Regions from separate parts of the Homo sapiens genome. Here regions 2 and 3 are each linked to region 1. The links are contacts of gene promoters, found by promoter capture Hi-C in human tissues and cell types (Jung and others, 2019). All regions are on one chromosome and are shown on one strand. The core of a region is centred on a gene start or on the middle of the fragment in contact, and the rest is flanking DNA. Distances in the headings are between cores, read along the strand shown.

Region 1 (3,672 bases), core at 1-2,500:
TGATGCCAGAGCCTGGGGCAGCTCCAGCCCTGCCACAGCTTCACTGCCTGTTCGTAATGGGTCACGTCCGTGCCCTGGGACTTGTCTGTGAAACACAGGGAATGATTAACTGGTTTCCGAGGGTTTGTCCAGTTCTAACATTCTGTCCTCTGCACTTTATACAGGATTTTAATTTCGATTTTAATTCCCCAAACAGGTGAATGGGGGAGGGAAGGGGGAGATCGTCACAGAGCCACAGCACCTCTAAGGAGGGGTGAAACCGTGATGGGATGTCAGGAACACAGAAGCACCCCAACCACTCTCCATAGGAGGCAGACCCCCGCCCCGTCCCACCAAGGGGAGGTGACCACCCGTGGATTTCCAGACTGAATCCCATCCTGCCATCTGCCCCCAGATACAGAAATGGAGGCCCAGAGAGTGGGTGTCATGTTCAGGATCATGCCACACACCAGGGCAGAGCTGAGCTAGGACCCAGCCTCCTGTCTGCCACTGGGGGCTTTGTACCCTCTCTAGCACATACCTGGAAGTCTGAAGCTTGGAGATGTGGTCCCTCAGGAGGGAAAGCCCCTTCTGAATATCCTGTTTCTGTTGGGCCCCAATCACAGCCCTTGCTCTCCCCGCCAGGGGCTGCGGGCCACTCTGTGGGGCAAGGGTAGGGTCCGGGTGCCCACACAGGAATGGGCCCGGGGTAGGTTGGGGGCTGGATCTGGGTTGCCCTGGGGAGGTGGGAGACACAGCCCACCATGACTGGTGGAGGTCTAGGTTCTGGGCCCTCCCTGAACTGGTTAAATCCGGGCGTGTGAGTATCGGAGGAGCCACCGGCTCTCCAACTGGCGCCCCTGACTTTAGCCATCTGAGACTCCTCTCTCCAGTTCTCCCAGATACGCTAGGCTCAAGCCCTCAGCCCGGCTCCCAGAGCCTCCGCCGGGAGTCCACGCCCGAGGCAGGGGTTGGGTGAAGGGTACTGAGTAGGTGCTGGGAGCCCCGTCACCAGCACCCTGCTCCCAGCTCCGTAGCCAGAGCAAACCCTCTCCCGCTCCCCGCGGGCGTTCGCGGCCGGTCGGCCCCGGCGTGACTGCGCCCCCATTGGCAGGAGGGGCTCTGCCGCCCGGGCCCCCAGTCCCCGGGCCCCCCACCCCCAGGGCAGCACGTGCGGGGCGGGGCTGTGGCCCGAGCCCGGAGCTGATTGGGCGCGGGCCTGGTGGGCGGGGCCGGGCCGCAGCTGTCAGAGCCGCGGCGGCGAACGAGGCGCAGCGAGCTGAGCGGTGGCAGCGCCGCAGCCGGGGCCGGAGCGCAGGAGCCGACGGGGCCCGACCAGGATGGTGCAGTGGCGGCTCCGCGGCGCACGCACGCGCTGAGCGGGCCCAGCCTGGGCCCCGCGCCCCCCGCGCCCCCCGCCGCCCCGATCCGGGCCGGCATGATGTGCCTGGAATGCGCCTCGGCGGCGGCGGGCGGCGCGGAGGAGGAGGAGGCGGACGCGGAGCGGCGGCGCCGGCGCCGGGGGGCGCAGCGAGGGGCTGGCGGTAGCGGTTGCTGCGGGGCGCGGGGCGCGGGCGGCGCTGGAGTCTCGGCCGCGGGCGATGAGGTGCAGACGCTGTCGGGCAGCGTAAGGCGGGCCCCGACCGGACCCCCCGGCACCCCCGGCACCCCCGGCTGCGCAGCTACTGCAAAGGGCCCCGGCGCTCAGCAGCCCAAACCGGCCAGCTTGGGCCGCGGGCGGGGGGCAGCCGCCGCCATCCTCAGCTTGGGCAACGTGCTCAACTACCTGGACAGGTACACCGTGGCAGGTGAGCGAGTGCCCCACCCAGCCCGAGGACCAAGACCCCACCCCATCCCACCACCCGCCTCGAGGGAGGTACCCCAGAGAGCTTTTGGTCTCAGGCCTGCTATCTCCAGGCCCTACGTGAGGTCCCTACGGACCCTCTGCTCAGGCACAACTGGGCAAGGGATGCCTCCGTGCACCACGGGTACAATCCAGCTCCCCGCTCATACACACCCGGGGCCAAGGGATAGAGGAGTCCCCACCCCTGGAGCAGCCCGCGCGTCCTCTCCAGCCCTTGACGGCCCATCCGTTGTCCTCCTCTCCAAGAGTCTCCTCTGCGTCTCTCTGTCTCCTTGTCTCTGCGCCCCCTCCGACCCCAGCTGCCGGTTCCCGGGCCTCCTTCCCTTCCCTTCCCCCAGCCCAGGTCGTCTGTCCGTCCATGGCCCGTCAGTTCCTTCCTTTCTCCGCCGCCTCCACCCCCCTGCGTGCGTGCGGCGAGTGCGCGCGCCCCTTGCGGGTGTGCGCTAGGGAGACCGGGTGTGTGTGCGCGTGGCGGCGCGGTTGTGTGTGAGCGCGTGGCTGACAAAGGCTCCGGGCTGCGGGGAGCGGAGGGAGGGGCGGGGCGGGTCCGCGGCGCCTGGGGACCCAGGCTGCGGTTTGCAGCTGGCCCTGTACAGAGGCCTGGAGACGCCTCCCCCTGCTCTATGGTGCTTGGGGTGTAGGGTAGGGCGCAGGCCTCTGGAGCTAGAGACGTGGAGCCTCATCCTCAGGGAGCATCTCTGGGAATCAGCCTTGGGGACGGGATTGGGATCGATAGAACAACTGGGTTCTAGCCCCAGCTTTGCTCCTAATGTGCTTGGTGTGTGACCTTGGGCCAGTCTCAGCGTGTGTTTAGGTCTGTTTGCCCGTTTGTGAGTTGATTGATCATTGGGCCTTTGGGGGACGCACGTGGTTCTGGAATTGCCTTCTGCTGGCTCCCTTCCCCAGCAATTAGGGGTGGGTCTAGGGGTAAGAATTTGCCCTAGACTGAGCTGCTACTGGTTGGGAATGGTGGAGCTTTGAGAGGGAAGGACTTTGGCCAGACTGGCATAGGAAGGGGCTCCCTGCAGGAGGAGAGCAGTACTGTGTGCCTGGCATGCTGGCCCAGAACCTGCGTAACTATAGCTTAGTAAAATCTGGAGCTATCAAACACACACACAACAGAGAGAGAGAGGAGATAGGAGAGAGGGAAGGATTTATTTTTGGACAGACTCTAAAGAGAACTTTGCGGCAATTGAGGGAAGAGAGCCCGGGCATAAACCACATGCCACCTGGTGCCTTCTCTGGGCCTCAGTCTCCCCGTCTGTTGAATGGAGTTTTGTGTCAAATGGAAGGGAAGAATTCTGATGGGAGGGCAGAGGCTTCCCCCTCCCCCCATTCCTGCTTTCAACCCCCCTTGGCTCTCTGTCCTTCCGCTGGAGGAAATTGGAAGTGGGTACCAGTGGCATCAGTTTCTGGGTCGAGCTATCCCAAAGAGAAACTTACTTTGGTCTAGAGAGCAGGAATATTGAGCACCTCCCAAAAACGCCAGCCGCTGTCACGCATGCACCATGCTGCCGGGGACCTGGGAGCATAAGCGCCATCCTTTGGGGGAGAAATCAGAGAATACCTGGGACCTGTAGTCAGTTCACAAAAGGCTTCTGTACACAGATAGGGGGACCAATGTCCCTGTACAGCCCCCGTTCAAGATGGCCAGGAAAGTGACTGGCAAAGCTGGTGTTAGCTCTAACAGTAAGGCTCTGCCTGGGAGGAGGTCTTCCCACCCTTTCTCAGCTGAAGAAGGAATGGTACTACTTCTGGCACTGTAGCGCTCTCCAACTTGTTTTTTTTCTGGCCCCAGACCACCCCCTTTGACGTTCTTAGGGGAACTG
Region 2 (3,400 bases), core at 306-2,805, 270 kb before region 1:
TCATAGTATGAAAAGGGTTGAACTGGATGACAGCATTAGTGCCAGCAGGAGTTCCCAAGGGTTGTCTCAGCCATCCACCCAGACGACTCAGTATCCGAGAGCTGACACACCCAACAATCCAACTCCTATCACCAGCTCCTCAGGTTATCCTACCTTGCGGATAGAGAAGAACGACTTGAGAAGTGTCACTCTTTTGGAGGCCAAAGCCAAGGTGAAGGATATAGCAATATCCAGGGACAGGATAACTCTAATAAAAGATGTACTCCAAGAAGGTACTCTTGGGCATATTTTCCATGGGATTTTAATAGATAAAAAAGATCCAAATAAAGAAAAACAAGCATTGGTCGAAACAAAGATCAAGCTTCTGAAATTCAGGTGACAATGATGCTCACTGAAAGTCGTAAGCTGCAAAGTCTTCATCACAGAAATCTTCTTCCTATTACTCATGGGTGTATACGAGAAAAGCCCATGGTGACACTGCCTTACATGAACTGAGGGAATCTTCACTTGTTTTTACGGCAGTGCAAGTTAGTAGAGGCCAATAATCCACAGGCAATTTCTCAACAAGACCTGGTACACATGGCTATTCAGATTGCCTGTGGAATGAGCTACCTGGCCAGAACGGAAGTCATCCACAAAGACCTGGCTGCTAGGAACTGTATCACTGATGACACACTTCAAGTTAAGATCACAGACAATGCCGTCTCATGGACTATCACTGTCTGGGGGACAATGAAAACAGGCCAGTTTGTTGGATGGCTCTTGAAAGTCTGGTTAATAACGAGTTTTCTAGCACTAGTGATGTGTGGGGCCTTTGGAGTGATGCTGTGGGAACTCATGACTCTGGGCCAGACGCCCTACATGGACACTGACCCCTTCGAGATGGCCGCATACCTGAAAGATGGTTACCGAATAGCCCAGCCAATCAACTGTCCTGATGAACCATTTGCTGTGATGGCCTGTTGCTGGGCCTTAGATCCGGGGGAGAGGCCCAAGTTTCAGCAGCTGGTACAGTGTCTCACAGTTTCATGCAGGCCTGGGGGCCTACGTCTGACTCTTCTCTCGCAATCCCACAGCATCAGGAGAAAGGTGCCTGTCATGGATGCTTTGTATCTAACACCACGCCAACAGAAGCACATTTGTCTTCCAGAACACTGTGCCTCAGCAATGCTTTAGAATCTGAACTTTTTAAGACAGACTTAATAATGTGGCATATTTTCTAGATATCACTTTTATTAGGTTGAACTGAAAGGGTTTTTGTAAATTTTTTGGCCAAAATTTTTTAAAACATAGTTACCTTGGACTAGAGGTACATTGTTACAAAATGAACAGTTTTTAAAATTGTTCAGACACAGATATTTGGAAGTAGCTATCTTAGTGCCAACTGCTTTTTATTTTTTTTACTTCATCAAGGTGATGTAAGTGACTCACCTTTGAAGTTTTTTTTTTTTTTTTTTTTTTTTTTTTGAGACGGAGTCTCGCTGTCGCCCAGGCTGGAGTGCAGTGGCGCGATCTCGGCTCACTGCAGGCTCTGCCCCCGGGGTTCACGCCATTCTCCCGCCTCAGCCTCCTGAGAAGCTGGGACTACAGGTGCGCACCACCACGCCCGACTAATTTTTTGTATTTTTAGTAGAGACGGGGTTTCACTGCGTTAGCCAGGATGGTGAAGTTTTTTTAATGTTATTTTTTATCACTACTCTTGGAAATGGCCTGTCTTCAAGATGCAATACTTTTCTTAGGAAAGGAAAAACAGCATAAAAAGATACCTGGTTTGTCTTGTACAAGAAAAGGCAATATGAGAGGAAGAAAATTTAAAGAAAAGCTAGAGGAAAAAAAATTTTTTTTAATACTTATTAGAAGCAAACTGCCCTTGCATGGAAAACTGTTTGTTTGTTTTTTTTTAGTGAAAAGGAATTCTGCTTTCGTGTTTTTGGGAAAGCAGGAACTGAGTTCATTGCATCTTTAATTTGGTGGAAATTAGCTTTTCTGTGAACCAGAAGTGGTTTGAGGCAGATCTGTAGTAAATAATGGTGATTTTATTTATTTTTACTCTCTGGAAAAGGAGACAATACAATTCCAGAAAGTGGACTCATATTTCTAAGGTTAAGATTCCCGTTTATTGCACCTAGAATAGTGCTATGCACAGAGTGGGTGCTTGAGTTGTCGTTTTTTTTTTTTTTTTAAATAAACTGGTAAATTTTGTGCTTATCTTCAAGGCTGGCTTAAGTATAAACTTGTTTTTTTAAACACTTGAAAAATTAAAGGATTTGTTTTATATTTAAAAAAAAAAACTTTTTAGGCTGGGTGTGGTGGCTCACACCTGTAATCCCAGAACTCTGGGAGGCCGAGGCAGGCGGATCACTTGAGGTCAGGAGTTTGAAACCAGCCTGGCCAATTATGGCAAAACCCCCTCTCTACTAAAATTACAAAAAGTAGCCGAGCGTAGTGGTGCATGCCTGTAATCCCAGCTACTCGGGAGGCTGAGGTAGGAGAATCTCTTGAAGCCGGGAGGCAGAGGTTGCAGTGACCCAAGATCACATCAGTGCACTCTAGCCTGGGGGACAGAGCGAGATTCTGTCTCAAAAAGAAAAGTTTTTGCTTCATAGAATTAAAAAATCTTGGTAGACAGTATCATTTTTATCAATAAATAACATCCTCTTTAGTCAATTTAAGGATGTATCCTTAAATATAACCTCCTGGAAATAAAATTAAACCTCAAACCATATTTCTAAATAATCTCTGGGTCAAAATGAAATAAAAGGACAGAGGTTCTAGTTCTGTTATGGCAGTGGAACAACCCATCCCATTTTAACTGATTATAGCTAAAAATTCTGGACAGAGTACAAAACAACAACGACCTAAAGATTTGGAAAAGTCAACAAAAGCAGCTGAACTGAGAGGGAGGCGAAACTTGAAGCAGCAACTGCACTGGATGAGTTTCCCCGTTTTGTTCCTCTCCTATGGCTTCGGTGTGTGTGTATATATATATTTATATAATTTTTTTTTGAGACAGGGTCTCACTGTCACCCAAGGTGGACTGCAGTGGCGTGATCTCAGTTCACTGCAACCTCTGCCTTGCAGGCTAAGTGATCCTCCCACCTCAACCTTCTAAGTAACTGGGACCACAGGTGAGTGCCACCACACCTGGCTAATTTTTTTGCATTTTTGGAAGAGATGGGGTTTTGCCATGTTGCCCAGGCTGGTCTCAAACTCCTAGGCTCAAGGGATCCGCTTGCCTCAGCCACTCCAAGTGTGGGATTACAGGCGTGAGCCACTGAACTTGGCAAAAATTATTTTAAAATGATAAAAGCAACAATTCCTTAGGAAGTCATAATTATAAATGTAAATGTACATAATAGAGGCTAAAAATTATATGCAGAAAAACTGACAAAAATTAAAA
Region 3 (3,295 bases), core at 333-2,832, 290 kb before region 1:
ATGTGCCCCCTGTGGACTCCCCCAAGACACTGCCTGCCTGTTCCACTCTTTAGATAAAATGACTGGTATACTTGGTTATTAGGATGATCACTGACTATTTTGTTGACAGATTCTAATGTGTGCTCAGACTAAACCAAAATCTCATATATTAAAGACTTTCACTCTTTAACAGTTAAAGTGAAAAAAACTCCTACAGGAACTGGACCTGGTTATGGCATTTCCAACGCAGGGGCAAGCGATGAATGGCAGGGTTGACCCCACCATTCCCCTGGTAATCACTGCTGGGTGTACTACTAACATTGCCTCGCATTCTCTGAACAAACCAATAAAGCAAAAGTAATTCCCACTTTATGGATAAGGAAGACGTAGAATGTGACTTGTCCAAGGCCACAGAGTAAACAGATGAGCTCAGATTCAAACCTTGGTGAATACCAGCTTCATAAAGCCAGTGCTCTGTCTACCGTAATATGCAACACTCTAAAGTTAGCAAAATCAAGTTTATTATACCCACGCTGTAATCCACATACTTGCAAGCAATTAATAAACTCAGAGTGGAAGGTTAAATCATCTGAAAATAAACATCAAAAATGTATCACTAATTCTTGGCAATTCTTGTATCTAAGCAATCACCAAAATATTTAATAACTCAAAGATGATTTATCATCAAACATAAGAATTAACTCCCTGGGAGGAAAGAAACAAAATTCTCAGATTTTTTTTTTTTAGTAACAGGGTATCTGTTTCCAAAATAAACATCTCAGACACGAAACAGTGTGGGAAAGAATCATTCCCTACGTGGTGGAGATTTCCCCACTGAATCACACTCAGTGCTAAGCACCCGCTGGCTTTGCACAGCACATAACGGTGCTTGAGGAAGATGCATCTGCTCTTGACACTGACATACTCGAAGGATTTCCTACCCAGTGATGAGCAAAATTTTCCTCTCTACCAGCCAGCAAGCTCAGCACTCCAGCACATGGCTTATAAGGATACTTGTATTAAAACCTTGGCCCAAAAAGGACAAAGCTGGCACAGGACCACATCTTGATGTAACTACATTCCACCAACTAGGAGCAATTTGTGAATGGCAAAAATGTAGCACAGACAATAATAGTATAACAATGCATCATCAAAAGGGGAAAATATAGATGATTAAGATGGAACGAAACAAGTAGATTCTCTCTTTGATGTCTACGTGTAAGTAAAAAAAAGTGGCCATGGCAATGCACTTCAATCAAGTCAACCATCCCTCCACAAAACTAACGCTTTGACACTTTGGAAAGCTTTCATTTCTCACTGGAACTCTACCTCTATACAGATTTCACTCTGTCTAAAATGACCATTGCAAAGCAAAATCAGCCCAGATCCATTTGGGACTCATGAATTAGTAAGACTATGGAAAAAAACAAACAAAAACCTAGTATTTTTTTTTTCCTTTGACAAGTTAATTCATTAAGATTAAAATGTTCTGGGAGGACGCGGTGGCTCACGCCTCTAATCCCAGCACTTTGGGAGGCCAAGGTGGGTGGATCACCAGGTCAGGAGATCGAGACCATCCTGGCTAACACGGTGACACCCCGTCTCTACTAAAAATACAAAAAATTAGCTGGGCGTGGTGGTGGGCACCTGTAGTCCCAGCTACTGGGGAGGCTGAGGCAGGAGAATGGCATGAACCCAGGAGGCGGAGCTTGCCGTGAGCCAAGATCGCACCACTGCACTCCAGCCTGGGCGACAGAACAAGACTCCGTCTCAAAAAAAAAAAAAGATTTAAATGTTTTGTTCTCAAGTCTATCATTTCTGTATTCTTCCAACTATTAACAATGCATTCAAAATATAGCTACAATTTCAAATAACTCTGCTAGAACAAAATGAAACTCTATCAATTTATCATAATAGAGGCCTAGCCTGTTAAAGTGAAAACCCTGAAGCTAAGAACACGTTTCAAGGTTTATGGTTTTGCTACTATCCTTGTATCTGTGGTAGAATACAAAAGCAAAACCTTCCTAGCACAATTCCTGGAGAAAGCCATCCATTGAACAAGCAAACATATCAAGTGCTTACAAGTAAAAGGTACTTCTTCACACAAGTACCATCTTTGTAGCCTTTCTTTCTGGGGCCCTGTTGGCACGGTGAATGGCCAAACTAACACGGCATAGGCAACAGCTCTTGAGTGCTTCCTCTGACCCAATGATCAAATTCTAGATCATGTAGCCTGTGAGTACAGACTACAGAAGCCTTTGAGAATTTTGGGAACAAGGTCAGAAAGTCTTCAAAAATTACTCGGATAAAAATAAAATTGCCTGCAGGGAAACATACACACTTCTTCCTACCTCTTTGGATTCCTTTGTGTAACAAGCTCCAGCCACTCTTGTCCACCATGTCCACATCAGCTTTGTGACTAACCAGCGTGGTGGCAATACTCTCCAGTCGTCGTGAGAGGGCTAGATCTAATGCCAGATCTCCGTTATGATCCGCTTCATTCAGCTTCCCAGGGAGCTACACAAACAAGTTTGTAAATTAGCGCCCAGTGAGTAGAGAATACGACCTATTTTAATTTCTCCCACCTTGACCCTTAAATATCATCTCTTATACAAATGTCAAATTTAAGTGCTCCAACACTGCTTACTCCCCAAATTCAACTTTATTCACAAACTTCTATCAGGCTTCCTCAGGGTACATGTTTTCAGGGAGTACAGAATTAATGGGGACCACATAGCCAACATAAACAATGTGGGAGACGATTAAAGGCCACCAGGAAAATGTGGACAGAGTGCTGTGGGGCACGAGTGCCAGGCAGAGGCTCAGAGAGTTTTACGGTGAACAGCTAATGTTTTCATGAAAGGCAGTGGCGTTCCTATTTCATTCTTCCCAGCAGTTTAATGTCTCCCCATACACTGGACACCCGGGATAAAACATACTTCGCTCCCATCTGTCAAGAGCCATTACATTTCTTTCAAGGTCATATGGTGGGCAGAATTATCACCCCCCCCAAAGACGGACATGTCCTAATCCCCAGAACCTATAAACATACCACGTTACATGGCAAAAGGCACTTTGAGGATGTGATTAAGGACCTTGTGATGGGGACAGTATCCCAGATTATCCAGGAGGCCCGACCTATCTAACCACAGAGGGCCCGACCCATCTAACCACAGAGGGCCCGACCCGTCTAACCACAGAGGGCCCGATCTATCTAACCACAGAGGGCCCGATCTATCTAACCACAGAGGGCCCGATCTATCTAACCACACAAGTCCTTCAAAGTGAAAAAGGGAACCAGAAGAGTAAGTCAGAG

What was found. Contacts are between HindIII fragments. The study calls those that stand out against the background at their distance.
Region 2: a contact is called between a fragment that was not itself captured here and the fragment with the promoter of SPNS2 in region 1, in 3 of the 25 tissues and cell types used here (dorsolateral prefrontal cortex, mesenchymal stem cells and spleen).
Region 3: a contact is called between a fragment that was not itself captured here and the fragment with the promoter of SPNS2 in region 1, in 5 of the 25 tissues and cell types used here (adrenal gland, dorsolateral prefrontal cortex, heart right ventricle and 2 more).

What each region holds. Positions count from the first base shown.
Region 1 is chr17:4,497,631-4,501,302 of GRCh38, forward strand. It overlaps SPNS2 (SPNS lysolipid transporter 2, sphingosine-1-phosphate), which reads left to right and starts at 1,251. Exons shown (of 13, transcript NM_001124758.3): 1 at 1,251-1,787. The coding sequence starts at 1,418. It overlaps SPNS2-AS1 (SPNS2 antisense RNA 1), which reads right to left and starts at 1,105. Exons shown (of 3, transcript XR_001752763.2): 1 at 521-1,105; 2 at 1-85. RefSeq lists silencers at 1,044-1,103, 1,114-1,263, 1,324-1,373 and enhancers at 1,415-2,050, 2,051-2,685. The HindIII fragment of the contact is 11,191 bases long and covers 229-3,672 here.
Region 2 is chr17:4,222,776-4,226,175 of GRCh38, forward strand. All of the region lies in intron 3 of ANKFY1 (ankyrin repeat and FYVE domain containing 1), which reads right to left. It also overlaps the pseudogene RYKP1. Among named protein-coding and RNA genes, the nearest start is that of ANKFY1, 40 kb to the right of the region's middle. The HindIII fragment of the contact is 4,884 bases long and covers 1-3,400 here.
Region 3 is chr17:4,203,991-4,207,285 of GRCh38, forward strand. It overlaps ANKFY1 (ankyrin repeat and FYVE domain containing 1), which reads right to left. Exons shown (of 25, transcript NM_001330063.2): 7 at 2,331-2,496. Among named protein-coding and RNA genes, the nearest start is that of ANKFY1, 58 kb to the right of the region's middle. RefSeq lists a silencer at 3,060-3,260. The HindIII fragment of the contact is 7,321 bases long and covers 1-3,295 here.